5 separate regions of the Homo sapiens genome follow, and all the other regions are linked to region 3. The links are contacts of gene promoters, found by promoter capture Hi-C in blood cells and fetal thymus (Javierre and others, 2016). All regions are on one chromosome and are shown on one strand. The core of a region is centred on a gene start or on the middle of the fragment in contact, and the rest is flanking DNA. Distances in the headings are between cores, read along the strand shown. Region 1 overlaps INPP5F (inositol polyphosphate-5-phosphatase F). Region 2 holds the start of LOC105378512 (a long non-coding RNA gene). Region 3 holds the start of EIF3A (eukaryotic translation initiation factor 3 subunit A). Region 4 has its middle 28 kb from the start of PRLHR. Region 5 overlaps BAG3 (BAG cochaperone 3).

Region 1 (2,700 bases), core at 86-2,585, 750 kb after region 3:
ATCTTTGGAAATCAGATAGTAGTCTTGAAACTATGGAAAACACAGGAGTGATGGATAAGGTTCAGGCAGAGTCTGATGGGGACATGTCTTCAGATAATGACTCATACCACTCTGATGAATTCCTTACAAATTCTAAGTCTGATGAAGACAGGCAGCTAGCTAACTCATTAGAGAGTGTAGGGCCAATAGATTACGTTCTTCCTAGTTGTGGTATTATTGCCTCAGCGCCTCGATTGGGCAGTCGGTCCCAGTCTCTTAGCAGCACAGATAGTAGCGTTCATGCTCCTTCAGAGATTACTGTTGCTCATGGGAGTGGGCTTGGAAAAGGCCAGGAGTCTCCTTTGAAGAAAAGTCCTTCTGCTGGCGACGTACACATATTGACTGGCTTTGCCAAGCCTATGGATATTTACTGCCACAGATTTGTGCAAGATGCACAGAACAAAGTGACCCACCTATCAGAGACCAGATCTGTGTCTCAGCAGGCTAGTCAGGAAAGAAATCAAATGACCAATCAAGTTTCAAATGAAACCCAATCAGAATCAACAGAACAGACACCTTCTCGGCCATCGCAATTAGATGTCTCTCTTTCTGCAACAGGCCCACAGTTTTTGTCAGTTGAGCCAGCGCATTCAGTTGCATCTCAAAAAACCCCCACCTCCGCTTCCAGCATGCTTGAACTTGAGACAGGGCTTCATGTAACTCCTTCTCCTTCAGAGAGCAGTAGCAGCAGAGCAGTCTCTCCCTTTGCCAAGATTCGAAGTTCCATGGTCCAGGTTGCTAGTATTACCCAAGCTGGATTAACCCATGGGATAAACTTTGCAGTGTCAAAAGTTCAGAAGAGTCCTCCAGAACCTGAAATCATTAATCAAGTCCAGCAAAATGAACTTAAAAAGATGTTTATACAATGCCAGACACGGATAATTCAGATTTAGCTTTTAGCCATAAGAATCCTTCCATGGCTTTTATTTAAAAATATGAAATTTTCACCTCTTGGGGTATTTTAATTGTACTGTCTGAACCCAGGGATCACAAATTCTGTTCATTGGAAAGGGTTTTAAACGGAGTCGGAACCTGAGTAGATTTCCAAATTTTACAGCCAGGACTACAGAAGTGCATCATTCTAGAATGTGTAGACCTGAGTAGCTTATACACTACAGAGCACTTTGCTTATTTGAAAGTAATTCAGCAACAGGTCACTTTGGGATATAACCTGAACCTTTTTTTGGAGTGGGGTGGGTAGACTACAGTAGACACAAGGGCTGGACATGCAGATGCTTAGGGGATTAGCGTTTTTCATAATTTGTTCTGTTTGTCAGTTCATTCCTGTGTGTTCTTACCTCTACAAAGTAAATTACACATTTAGTTTTTAGTGACTTTAACATGTTACTGAAGCATTTGAATATAAAGCTATTTTAGTTTTGATGGCTTAACTGTTCCCTGAGGAGTTGAGGGTTATTGACACTAGAGAAATGAATTCTCATTTGATCCTAATTTTCCCCGTATTCTACTTGAACACATTAAAAATACTCTGCTGCCTATACAATGTAAACCTAGGAGCATTAAGACTTGTCACACAGTAAACCTGATACATCAGAGGTGAATACCAGCACCTATTAGGTTTCATTTTGCTGTTTTCAGGAATGTAAGAACACCCATATTGGCTACTGGAAATTCTAGAAGTCAGTCAGGTTTTAATTTATTCCAGGAGGGGCATCCTCGACATCTTATGTAGATGATCCACAACTTCAAAATTTAGTCTGGGCCTAGTGCAGTGGCTCACACCTATAATCCCAACACTTTGGGAGGCCAGGAGTTTTGAGACCAGCCTGGGAAACATCTGTCTCTACAAAAAAATACAAAAATTAGCTGGGCATAGTGGTGCATGCCTGTGTTTCTAGCTACGCAGGAGGATTGCTTGAGCCCATGAGATTGAGGCTGCAGTGAGCTGTGATCGTGCCACTGACCTCCAGCCTGGGGGACAGAGCAAGACCGTGTCTCAAAAACAATTTAGTCTGAAACACAATTGTGCTGAATCTGTCTGACTATAACTCTGACCACACAGAACCAGGGCTGCCCCTGTAATCCCCACAGTAAGAAAGTTGTATGGCATATTCCAACAAGTATTGGTTCGTCTGGTGTCTTTAGAGCTTTACTCTGTTGAAGTGACTGATTCTCAACTGAACATTATGTCGTTACTTTGATAAGCATTCCACTTTTGTTATTTATTAGTGCTATCTTTTTTTTTTACGTGTTAAATCTTGTGATTATTAAAATAAAGTACCATTGTAATTTAAAGTGACAAATGGGTATGAGAATTCCTTGCATAACAGATTAAAGAATTTGTAAACGGCAGATTTGCTATAACTGAACACTTGGTCTAGCTGTTGCCAGTATGTTACTCCTTTGAAATATACTCATGATGTAAAAAGGGAAATGGATCAGAAACTATACTTTAAATCCAAACATTCAAAACTGAATGCTTGCTTCTACCAACTTTTCTTCCGGGTCCTGAAAATATTAAGGGTTCCCAACATGGGAGAAAATACAACCCAACATTAGGTGATAAAATACACGTTTAAACTCTACAGAAATTAGTTCGAAAGAGATCTTTGAAAAATCATTTTAAGAAGGCAAAGTTCCAAACAGGGTTACACAGGAGTCTACTCAGTTTCCTGGCCATACAGGATTAACGCTGTGCCT
Region 2 (2,700 bases), core at 107-2,606, 510 kb after region 3:
AAGTTACTCAATGCATAATACCCCAAAATAAATGTCAAATGAGAATGAAGAACATCAGAAAACAGACCTTTAAAGCAACTATATGACAAATAGAAATTTAGGCTCAACATCAAAGCAATTCTTGCCACTTTAAATACCATCAAATAAATTAGTAATACTGTAGGTAATGAATATTTAAAGACCTACCTAGGCTCTAAACACCATATTGTTTTCTGAAGATAGAACCATATGTCTTAGCTTGTGTGTGTCTGCAGGAAAAAAACCTCACTAGTAACACACAGGCATCTTAAGGAAACAATTTAAGATAAGCTTTGTTAAGAACACATTCTTTTAAAACATACTGGCCACTTGAAAAACCTAATCCATAGCTCACAATGTAAAATATAAGATCTCCATAAACAAAAAACCCTACTAGATATCAACGTCTAAAATCATGTTCAGTTTTCATCATGTTACTTATATCTAATAGAACCCTTTGAGAATATGTAAAACGTACACTTAGAAAAACTATGCATTATTTGTATTAAACTCTAATAAAAATCCCAATTGTTAAACATTTGCTTTTATCTCAAGATTTTACATTTGAAGGTTTTAAAAAATATATAAAAGTCAACAGACTGCACCACATGTGACAGTAATGTCTGCCTACAATCTTAGTTCAACCAGGACTTTTAAAAAAGAACTTAATACTAATTTAATGAAAGAAGTATAATCACTGTAGAAATTCTGAGTACCTCTTATGTTCCAGGCAGTGAACTAAGTGCTGTGGGGGTAAGACCTAGGAAGATGTAGTAGTCCTTCTCTTAAAAAAAAAAAAAGGCCCTATGGAAAAGGGTGGGAGAAGGAAAAAGGAAGACAGAATAGTAAACACGTACTGACATACAAAACAACAGAGTTAAGATGTTTATTTATTCATATGAACATGTCACAGTTTTAGAGAACTGTAAACATAGACAACTTAACTGTTTCAAAGAAAGAACAAGAGATTAGAGAAGGTAGAGGAAGGAAATAAGTGACAAAGAAGTTAGCTTATTATTCCCCTGGAGAAACTCTGATAGGGATGAAGGCAAGGCAGATGCAAAGATAAATAAAAGACATCAAAAAAGCACATTCTTTAGCACTACAAAACCAGAGATTCCTCTTGGTAAGGAACAGATACAGTAAATGAGACCCCTGCCATGAGTATTTATCAATCATTCAGTGTGTGATGATACTTCAGATTTTTAGATACAATGTAACTTTTATCTTTGTTAAATACATGTTAGCTAGTCTTTAAGCCTAGCTTTCCCAGATGCTTATATCAAAGTACACATTGTAACTCAACACCAAGTCTTGGCTTCAACAGATGTTGAAGGATAAAATTTTTTTTTTAATTGTTTAGACGAACTCTCGCTCTGTCACCAGTCTGGAGTGCAGTGGTGCAATCTCGGCTCACTGCAACCTCTGCCTCCTGGGTTCAAGTGATTCTCCTGCCTCAGCCTCCCAAGTAGCAGGGACTACAGGCGCGCGCCACCACGCCCAGCTAATTTTTGTGTTTTTTGTAGAGACGGAGTTTCACCGTGTTGGCCAGGAAGGTCTCGATCTCTTGACCTCGTGATCCGCCCACCTCGGCCTCCCAAAGTGCTGGGATTACAGGCGTGAGCCACTGCGCCCGGCCTGAAGGACAAATTTCAAGTGTGTCCCAATTCTTTCTTCTAGGGAGAGAAGGCAGAAATGGAAGACAACACAAAACACAAAGACGTTCTATTAAGCAGGCGTTTCATTGAAGCATTGGATGTGCTTCAGTAGGCCTCAGATTCTCAAAACGGGACGGATACTTCAGTGAGACGTTAGAGAACACATTTATTCCTGTACAAGGCCACACCAAAAAAATCTCTATCAATACTGAACATCTATCTTCTTTACTGAGCATCCTTTCTTTGGTAGGAGTGAAGAGATGTGAAGCTAGTCAAACTTCTCGAGTGCCCCTCCACCTTCATCTATTCCCTAAAAAGCAATTTCCCCATCAGAGAGCAGAGCCAAGTGGACTATGATCCTATCAATACCAGGAGAGGCAAGAGAAACAAAGCAGCGATCTGACTCCTTGGTACTCAAGGTAGGAGTGCTAGACCTGGAGAGGCCGGGAAATTAGGGTGCCCAATTTAAACATTTAATTAAAAAGTATTCAGACTTAAAAAAAAAAAAAAAGATGCAGAGAAAAGGAGTGCCACACTATTCAGAAAGGAATGCAAATGCTGAGTCATCACTCTTCATTGGAAAGGAAGGAAACCAGAATTAAGTGGTTGGAAGATGGAATTCATTCATTAGATTGAGCTTCAGGTAAAAAGCAACAGCAAGACAGGAGAAAAAGCGTTCAGAAGACACACATCAAATAGCGGATGAAGACATAATTTTAGCCAACTCTGAAGCTTTCGACGCACAAACAGATTAGGAAGAGGCAACACCTAGAGAGCAAAAGGAGTTTAACAACTGGTTGTCAGTTTAGCGTAGGGAGCGCTCAAAGTAAACTTCTTTATCCAAGAAGGGAAAGATGCTCGGGCAGCAAAAGGTATCCCTTATGTACTTCAAAAGTAGCGGGCGCTAGGCGGGTGTTTCTGACAGCGTGGGCGGGGGCACGTGGGGCATAAAGAGAGAAGGGGCTTGAGTGGTGAAAGAGTGTCCTGCTTCCTCCGAGAGCTTAGCTGGGGAGAAGAGCTGGGA
Region 3 (2,700 bases), core at 39-2,538:
GGATGAAAATAAGAGCTATCCATGCCCTAACGATTAGAAAAATTGTCCGGTTAGAGGGGAAAAAAAAAACCCTACACAAAGTTTCTTAAGCCCAGAGCCTAGCCAAGAACATGTGCATCCCCAGAACGCCAATGTAATAAATGCCTTGGAGAGATCGGGGCACACAAGTTTTTCCCTCAAGCGCCAATGGCTGAAGTACACATATAGAAATAGAAATCGCAGACAGCAGCACTGTGGCAGAAAAAAAGAGAAAAAAGGACTGATCTGGATGTCAAGAGACGTTGGTTTTAAGTCTCTTGGCTCAACAACTCCCGGAGTGACCTTGGGGAAACCTCTCTCTAGGCCTGTTTCGTTATCTTTAAGAGGCGACCTGAAGTCCCTTTACATTAACTCTATTCCAACTTCCAGTGATTCGAAACAGGCTTTAGGACTGCTTCTAATCAATGCCAGGAAAAATGAAAAAACAAAAACAAAACAAAACAACAGGAATCAGGTTAAATGGGTCAGAGGCCCCTAAGTGGATATAAAGCAGCTGGGTAAAGGGTAAGTGGACGCCGACCCAGCAAAGCACTGAGCGCGGCTTGGAGAGCGGGGGTGGCTGCGGGAAGGCCGGGGGTGGGTCCGTAGGGCTCCCGGCCCGGGCAGGAGGTGGAGCCGAGGCTCTCGCGTGCATTGTCCCCGGGAGGGAGCCATGTTTCTTACTCCCCGGCACTCCCAGATGGCGGCCGGGGACGCGGGCCCTAAGCAGACCAAAGCCCCAGGGACCTGGAGAGCCAGAGGACGCAGGCAGCAAGGAGGGAGCTCCAGTCCGGGTAGGGGCTGTCTCCCGGGCTGCGGTCCCCGCGACGCACCCGGAGGCGGCAGGGGGAAGGAAAGGCCCCTGGGGCGACGGTTCCGGGCTACGCGCCTCCCAGACCCCAGTCGATAGAGTGAGAAGGAAACCCATGCCCAACCACCGGCTGGGACAGCGGCGGGCAGGCCGCATCGGTCTCCTCTCCCCGCGCGGGCCGGGCGGCGGAGCAGTGGGAAGCAGGCCCGCGCTCTCGACCTCGGAGGCCTCGGGCCGCCCCAGCCCGGCGCGCCCCGATCAGCTACTCACCGTTGGCGCGTTTGAGGGCATTTTCCGGCCTCTGAAAATAGGCCGGCATCTTGGCGGCAGGCTCAGCTCACCCGGCGTCAGCGAACTCTCTAGTGGCCCGGGCCGGGAGAGGAGACGAAGGGGAACCAGCGTAAGGTCCCACGCGCCTCGCCAGCAGTCGCCCGCGCCCAGCCGGCCAGAGACGGAAAGGAAGGAGCCACGTGACCTCCCCGCGGCGGCCCTGCTGCCGCCCAGGCCCCGGATGTAGGGGGCGGGTCTCCGTGCGCGCAAGCGCGCTGGCGTCACGCACGCCGACAGACGTGGCGGCGCCGGAGTCCTAGGCGCGCAAGGTCCAGTTCCCGTCTTGGGCCTGTCCTGGATAGCGTTAGGGAGACAGTTCACAGGCTCTTCAATCTTCGAGCGAGAATTAGGGTGGGAAGGGTGAGTGTGGGGTCAGAGTTTCTGTCTGGAGAACAAGCAAACGTCTGCAGATTGGTTTTCAAAGCGACTTGTGCGGAGTCGTGCAGTTACAGTAAGGTCCCATCCAGCCTGGGAATCGCCTGTCTTGGCTACGTGAAAATGCTGAGTTTAACGAAAACGCAGTGAGCAGGTGTCATCAGGTCAGCGCCGCTCAACCGTGAGAGACAATCATGGGGAAGAGTGACGCCTAAAATAAACAAGCAAGGTTCTTTTATATCTTGGTAAAGTAAAAAGTTTGTGTCACAGGGATTGCCTTGAGAAATGGAGGCTCTCAGAGGGGGCGAATGGGGACAGCGACCTGGCAAAGGGCGAAACGCCCTGGAGCACAGCAGACTTGCTTGGTGTTTGAAAACACACGGAAAGGAGTGTCGTCACTTTTTACATACAGCGCACGTCACAAACAAATTAAGAAAAATTAGTGTTAGTGAAAAAAATCAATCTGAGAGGCCCTTTTATTGTTGCTTAACAATTTTAATGTTCGCAGACGAAGTACTTTACCTAGAATTTGAAAACCATTTGAACCGAATCTAATTCTCAAGCCCTTGGTACGAAATAAAGGTGAGCTCAGAAGGAAAAAAATTTTTTTTTTTTTTGAAACGGAGTCTCGCTTTGTCGCCCAGGCTGGAGTGCAGTGGCACGATCTCGGCTCACTGCAAGCTCCGCCTTCTGGATTCACGCCATTCTCCTGCCTCAGCCTCCCGAGTAGCTGGGACTACAGGCGCCCGCCACTGCGCCCAGCTAATGTTTTGTATTTTTAGTAGAGACGGGGTTTCGCCGTGGTCTCGATCTCCTGACCTCGTGATCCGCCCTCCTCGGCCTCCCAAAGTGCTGGGATTACAGGCGTGAGCCACCGCGCCCAGCCCAGAAGGAAAATTTAGAAGGCAGCAGTGAAATAGATTATTGTCAATGTATTACACATTTAATAGACGAGATATGTGAATTAATGAATGAGGAAATCGGCCGGGCATGGTGGGTCGCGCCTGTAATCCCAGCACTTTGGGTGGCTGGGGCGGGTGGATCACCTGAGGTCAGGAGTTCGAGACCAGCTTGGCCAACATGGCGAAACCCCGTCTCTACTAAAAATACAAAACTTAGGCCTGGCGTGGTGGCTCACGCCTGTAATCCAGGCGCTTTGGGAGGCC
Region 4 (2,700 bases), core at 191-2,690, 510 kb before region 3:
TCAAATAATCCTCCTGCCTTGGCCTCCAAAAGTGCTGGGATTATAGGTATAAACCACTATGCCTGGCCCCAGTAGATCCTTTTTTTTTTTTTTTTGAGACAGAGTCTCACTCTGTCACTCAGGCTGGAGTGCAATGGTGTGATCTCAGATCACTGCAACCTCCACCTCCCAGGTTCAGTTCACTGCTCTATCCCCAGGGCTTAGCGTCTGGCACTGGCTCCCAAATATGGAGTTGTTTACATAATTAATGATTCCTCTACTATGACCCAGGCTGTTCCCTGTTGTATTTTGTACAAATGAAACAGCTGACAAAGTGAGACACTGAGAGACTCTAACGCCCAAATGGGAGTGGCACAAGGCGATCGTGGGTGAGAGCAGGCATGTTTCCACACACTCCAGGGAGAAGGCTAGGGCCTGGGGTCCCCTTAATCTGGTCAGGTCTCCGCCAGCTGAAGGAGACCAAGATGCTGGCAGAGATGATGAGGTCACAACCAAGTCTGGGCCCTCAGCATGCCTGAGTCCTGCCCTGTGGTGGGGTGGCTGGTAGAGAAGCTGCAAAGCCACCCCACAGCTCGGGTGTTTGTGGGCTTTGCAGGGCTCCAGGGAACCTGGCTCTGCTGGCCAGTCTGCTCTCCTGGCTCGTGTGTGTAAGATGATGTGGTGAAAACGACTTCAGTTCCATGAACACAGGCTCAGGGTGGAGGGTCCTATTTGAAGCTGTGCCTTCTGAGTCTAGAGTGTGCAGTCAGGCACTGTATAGACAATGAGTTCTTCATTGATGGGACAAGCGCTGGAGTCAAAAACCTGAGCTGGACATCAGTTAAGGGGTAAAAACCGATTTTACTCAGGACTATTGCAATAGGGAGAATAGAGAACCGGGCTCAACTCCCACTTGCAAGGGCAGGTGGAGTGTTGGAGCAAAGGAGCAGCGTGGGGGTCAGCGGGTGGAAATGGCTAAGAGGAAACATTAGGGGCCAAGGGGATTCTTGCTGAAGACAGGCCAGGAAGATCAGACCTCCCCAGGGCAGTGGTAAAAGATGAGGAACCCGACCAGATATCGAGAGTGATCAGAAATGGAGAATGACAGCTGGGAGTGGAGGGGTCTAGCTAACCTGACTTAGCAGGACTCTTGCTAAAGCTGGATTTTACAAGAAGTGCACAGAGGTGGGCCTAAGAGAAGGTGCAGGAGGCTGACTGAAGTTTGGCCAAGCAAAGAATCTTTGTCATTGGCTAGGGGAAGTATTGGTCCTAAAATCCTGGATAGGAAGACAAACTGTAGGCCAGCAGTGACAGAGGAAATACCTATGTCAAGAAAGTTGGAAATGTGTCAGAGATTAATTTTAGCCCTGGGAATATGTCCGTCGGAAGAAACAGAATGGAAAATGGGGAATCTAGGAGAAACCACCGACATTCCTTCGTCAAGCATTTATGGCGTGCCTGCTCTGAGCTGGCCTGCAGGGTCTGTGGGAAGAGACAGTGCCTCCCTCTCCAGGGCCCCCATGGGACACTTCTCATATTCTGAAACAGTGCTTGCCAGGTCACATTGTATTATCTGGGCTTTCCACTCCTACAAGGACTGGAGCTGGTTCTCACCACAGGTGGAAGCTGAGCTTGCATCTGCGGCCTAGCAGGTTCTCCACATGGTGGGTAATGTGTGACTTCTGTGTCCCCGGCATGGAGTCCCGCTAGGCCCAGTGCTAGTCTACTATCTAATTCATGAGTTATTCTGGTTACGTTCTTGCCACAGTTGAGGAGACTAAATGGTTCTCCATAGGACAGGCCGTGCAACGGCATCTAATGAGTCCTCTCTCTCTCCCTCCCTCCCTTTGTTCCTTCCTTCCCACAGCTGAAGCATTTTCCCGGGAAAAAGTCCAGGCCGGGCACGGTGGCTCACACCTGTAATCCTAGCATTTTGGGAGGCCGAGGCAGGTGGATCACCCGAGGTCAGGAGTTCAAGACCAGCCTGGCCAACATGGTAAAAACCCATCTCTACTAAAAATACAAAAATTAGCCTGGCATGGTGGTGGGTGCCTATAATCCCAGCTACTAGGGAGGCTGAGGCAGAAGAATTGCTTGAACCTGGGAGGTGGAGGTTGCAGTGAGCCGAGATCGTGCCACTTCACTCCAGCCTGGGTGAAAGAGCAAAACTCCGTCTCAGAGAAAAAAAAAAAAAAAAAAAAGTGAAAAGTTAAAAGTCCATCCTAGAAAAATTCCACTCTTTGCCACAAGGTGGTGATCAAGGCTCACATAGTTTGGGGCCTACACTTTGCGAGCTGAAAGTGATCGTCTCACTCCACGAGGATTTGGGGGTTTGTTTCGGTTTTCCTTTTTAATATCTGGAGGGGAAGCAAGTGTTCCTAGGCAGCTCCCCACTACCCACCACAATCTAATTGTCCTTCAAACCAGACTCTGGTCTGTGTAAACAGGCCGTAAGATGGACTTCTGGAGTTGTCTGGGCACCCGGCTATGAACTTTTCAGATGGCTGTGAAATGTGGTGATTTGAGTTGCTGCTTCTCTGTTCTCAGTCAACACATGGGCCAGACTAGATACTGCTGCCTTACTGGCCTTGAACACATGGCTCTGATCCGAGGCCATTGCCTGACTTTCTTGGAATTATTGAGATCAAGAAATTGTAAGAGGCTGAGGCAGGAGAATCACTTGAACCCAGGAGGCGGAGGTTGCAGTGAGCTGAGATCGCG
Region 5 (2,700 bases), core at 185-2,684, 570 kb after region 3:
ATTCAGCCCATGAGCTGTTTGTGCTTCATTGCTTTCAATCCTGTGCTTTGACACACACAATATCAGGTTGCACTTGTGTGAGTTACACCTTACTGGAGACTAAATGTAGTGGAAAATCCTTGAATATCATTTTGTATTTGAAATTGGCTTCTCAATGCATAATGAGAAAAAGGCCCTTGCAGAAAACAAAGGGCGATTTTGGAGGAGCTGAGCTGAGGCCCGTCTGAGCATCATCATCTTCAAGAGGAAATGCTGTCAATCAGTAAAAAGCTGTTCATTGAGCATGAGGAGCTCAAGAGACGACCTCTCTTTTGGGGGAGGACTCAGCTTCAGGATGTTTAAAATTTAATCACGTTAGTAAGAAAATGGAAAGAAAAGACTAGACCTTTGTATTTTATTTCGTCTTCTACTGCCGTCTTGCAGTTGATCTTCCGCCTTCTCCTGAAGTAGTTAGGACAACTCCCTGTTTTCACAGAGGGGCAGAGCGAAAGCAAGTATCTTCTGTCATTGCTGAAGCAGGACGGCTCCCGGCAAAGATGCTGGGCTTCATCCAGCCCCATTCTAAGCAGCTGGGCCTCCCCACCTGCAGTCTTCCTGGATTTTGATTTTCTGCACACTTGGGCTTCCCACTAATTTGGCAAGTTCATACCAGTCCAGGCCCTTTCCTGGCAGAGGATGGCATTCAGTGCTGGTGCAGCCACTCCTCCAGGCTCCTCCCTGAATAAACAGAGGCCGGATGTTCTGGAGTGCTGTTCCCGCCAGGCCTCCTTGGGATGAGAGGGAGACCTTCCTCCCTCATGGAGCAGGGCCGCTCTAGCTCCATGGATCTTGGGGGTTACCAGTCTGGCACTCTCCAGGGAGTCCTGTTAAGAACACAGATTGTGGCTGTGTCTCATCGCCTCCCTGCCCCAACCCCATGTTCAAATCTGAATTGCTCAGTGTAGGGCCCAGAAAACTATTAAGTCCAGAAAGCTTTTTTGGTGGTTCTGATTCTGCTGCACTGGCAGTGGGAGCCACGGATGGCCAGTGATCCCATTTTGGGGAGGAGGAGCTGCGGCTTAGTGCCTCCTGAACATCTATCCTGCAGAGCATTTTCCCAAGCCTCCATTTTCCTTCTTGGGGAAACTCCCCAGGTACGCGGGCTTCTGGAGGTGTGAATATGGGGATGACATGGGAAGCGAGCCGAGACAGCACCTTGCAAAGTCTGGCAGGGTGGCTGGCAGTGCGAGAGTGGGGAGGTGGTCCAGAGATCTTCCTGGACCCCAGGAAGAAGCAAGCCAGAGCCTTTTCTTTTTGTCTTGCCCATCTGGCAGAATCTCACCATAATCATTTAACAGATTATACTCAGGCACTGTGACAGGGAGATAGAAACATCCTTTCAGATAACACTGGAAATGTTTCGAGTTATGATTGAAGTAGAGAGACCCATTTATTTTGCTTAAGGTTCAGCAGAGCCTCCTGAATTTTCTTAAAGATGAGATCGTTTTGCTCTTTCCAGATCTATTGCAAGCTGTTATGCCTCTTAGCAGAGGCGGAGCACAATCAGGAAATGAGTGGCCGTTCTCTCCTTCGTATTTCCAGCAAGTTGCAGTTGTGGCTGAGCAAGTTCCTGTGCGACTGCATGAAAGTGATTTGTTGGGGGGCAGATGAACAGCATGGCCAGATGCCTTGGAGCCCAGCTCATCCAGGACTTTCATTTTCCCCTCTGAAGAACAGCCTGTGTTGTTCACATGAGAACCGACTGCACCTCCGAGAACATCATTTGTCCCGTTTTGTAGGGTAGATTTGCCCTTTATGAGGGTGGAGCCTGTACACAGGACCTGCGGCAGCGTTTGACGTTGGCCAGGGCTGGGAAGGCTTAACTGTTGGATGCTATCAGGGCTGCTTGTGAGTCAGAAAGCTTCATACCACCCATGAGGCTTGCTTAGTGCTGTCCTCGTTTCTGGAATGACACACAGTCACCTTATATAAACCACTCTACATGTTTATTACTTTCTATTGACATTTAAAAATGATGTTCTGATGTTTATCATCCAAAGTAGAAAACCATTCATCATCCAGACCTACTCTTTCTCCTTTAAGTTTTGCTGTTTTAATATTGCTCTTAAATGTTTAAGAGAGCTTACAGAAGAAACTGAAGACAAAGGCCTTGCTTATTAGGATCTTTGAGACCCTCTGGCACTGGCGAACACGAGTGAACCCTGTGTCACACTTGACCGTGTTATTCTCCAGCCCCTCCTGGGTTCCCTTTTGTTGTGAGTCAAGTAGACACCTCTGATCTGCTTCTGCCTCAGAGCATAGACTCAGCTGGCCTTCTTTTTTTTTTTTTTTTTTTTGAGACGGAGTCGCACTTTGTCTCCCAGGCTGGGGTGCCGTAGTGCGATCTTGGCTCACTGCAACCTCCGTCTCCTGGGTTCAAGCGATTCTCCTGCCTCAGCCTCCCAAGTAGCTAGGATTATAGGTGAGCGCCACCATGCCCATCAGCCGGCCGTCTGAGGCAGGCTCCAGAGCCCCTTGTTTTGCAGGTGCAGGATTCATCTGTATGCATCATGTGGCACATGTGATACCATGTGAGGTATCTGGTGTTACTAAGTCGTCACGTATTTCGATGAAGGTATCTTTGGGACCTTGGCAGCCTTTTAGGAAGCCAGGCAGCTTGCAAAAGCTTAGGAAGAATTTGGGGGGAGAGGAATGAATGTA

What was found. Contacts are between HindIII fragments. The CHiCAGO score rates a contact against its expected background, and 5 or more counts as called.
Region 1: a fragment that was not itself captured here is called in contact with the fragment with the promoter of EIF3A in region 3 in 1 of 17 cell types (fetal thymus); the score reaches 5.9 in fetal thymus.
Region 2: a fragment that was not itself captured here is called in contact with the fragment with the promoter of EIF3A in region 3 in 16 of 17 cell types (fetal thymus, erythroblasts, non-activated CD4 T cells and 13 more); the score reaches 16.3 in fetal thymus.
Region 4: a contact is called between a fragment that was not itself captured here and the fragment with the promoter of EIF3A in region 3, in 1 of 17 cell types (M1 macrophages). The highest score is 6.2, in M1 macrophages.
Region 5: a fragment that was not itself captured here is called in contact with the fragment with the promoter of EIF3A in region 3 in 1 of 17 cell types (fetal thymus); the score reaches 5.6 in fetal thymus.

What each region holds. Positions count from the first base shown.
Region 1 is chr10:119,826,849-119,829,548 of GRCh38, forward strand. It overlaps INPP5F (inositol polyphosphate-5-phosphatase F), which reads left to right. Exons shown (of 20, transcript NM_014937.4): 20 at 1-2,299. The coding sequence ends at 932. MCMBP (minichromosome maintenance complex binding protein) reads right to left here. Exons shown (of 16, transcript NM_001256378.2): 16 at 2,592-2,700. Among named protein-coding and RNA genes, the nearest start is that of MCMBP, 45 kb to the right of the region's middle. The HindIII fragment of the contact is 7,246 bases long and covers 1-2,700 here.
Region 2 is chr10:119,593,266-119,595,965 of GRCh38, forward strand. All of the region lies in intron 1 of TIAL1 (TIA1 cytotoxic granule associated RNA binding protein like 1), which reads right to left. LOC105378512 (a long non-coding RNA gene) reads left to right here and starts at 2,299. Exons shown (of 2, transcript XR_946358.3): 1 at 2,299-2,700. The HindIII fragment of the contact is 2,099 bases long and covers 308-2,406 here.
Region 3 is chr10:119,079,529-119,082,228 of GRCh38, forward strand. It overlaps EIF3A (eukaryotic translation initiation factor 3 subunit A), which reads right to left and starts at 1,289. Exons shown (of 22, transcript NM_003750.4): 1 at 1,100-1,289. The coding sequence starts at 1,148. RefSeq lists a silencer at 754-1,013 and enhancers at 1,019-1,781, 1,209-1,503. The HindIII fragment of the contact is 5,277 bases long and covers 1-2,700 here.
Region 4 is chr10:118,566,245-118,568,944 of GRCh38, forward strand. No RefSeq gene overlaps it. Among named protein-coding and RNA genes, the nearest start is that of PRLHR, 28 kb to the right of the region's middle. The HindIII fragment of the contact is 5,456 bases long and covers 1-2,700 here.
Region 5 is chr10:119,654,063-119,656,762 of GRCh38, forward strand. The region is part of intron 1 of BAG3 (BAG cochaperone 3); the gene reads left to right. Among named protein-coding and RNA genes, the nearest start is that of BAG3, 4.0 kb to the left of the region's middle. The HindIII fragment of the contact is 928 bases long and covers 971-1,898 here.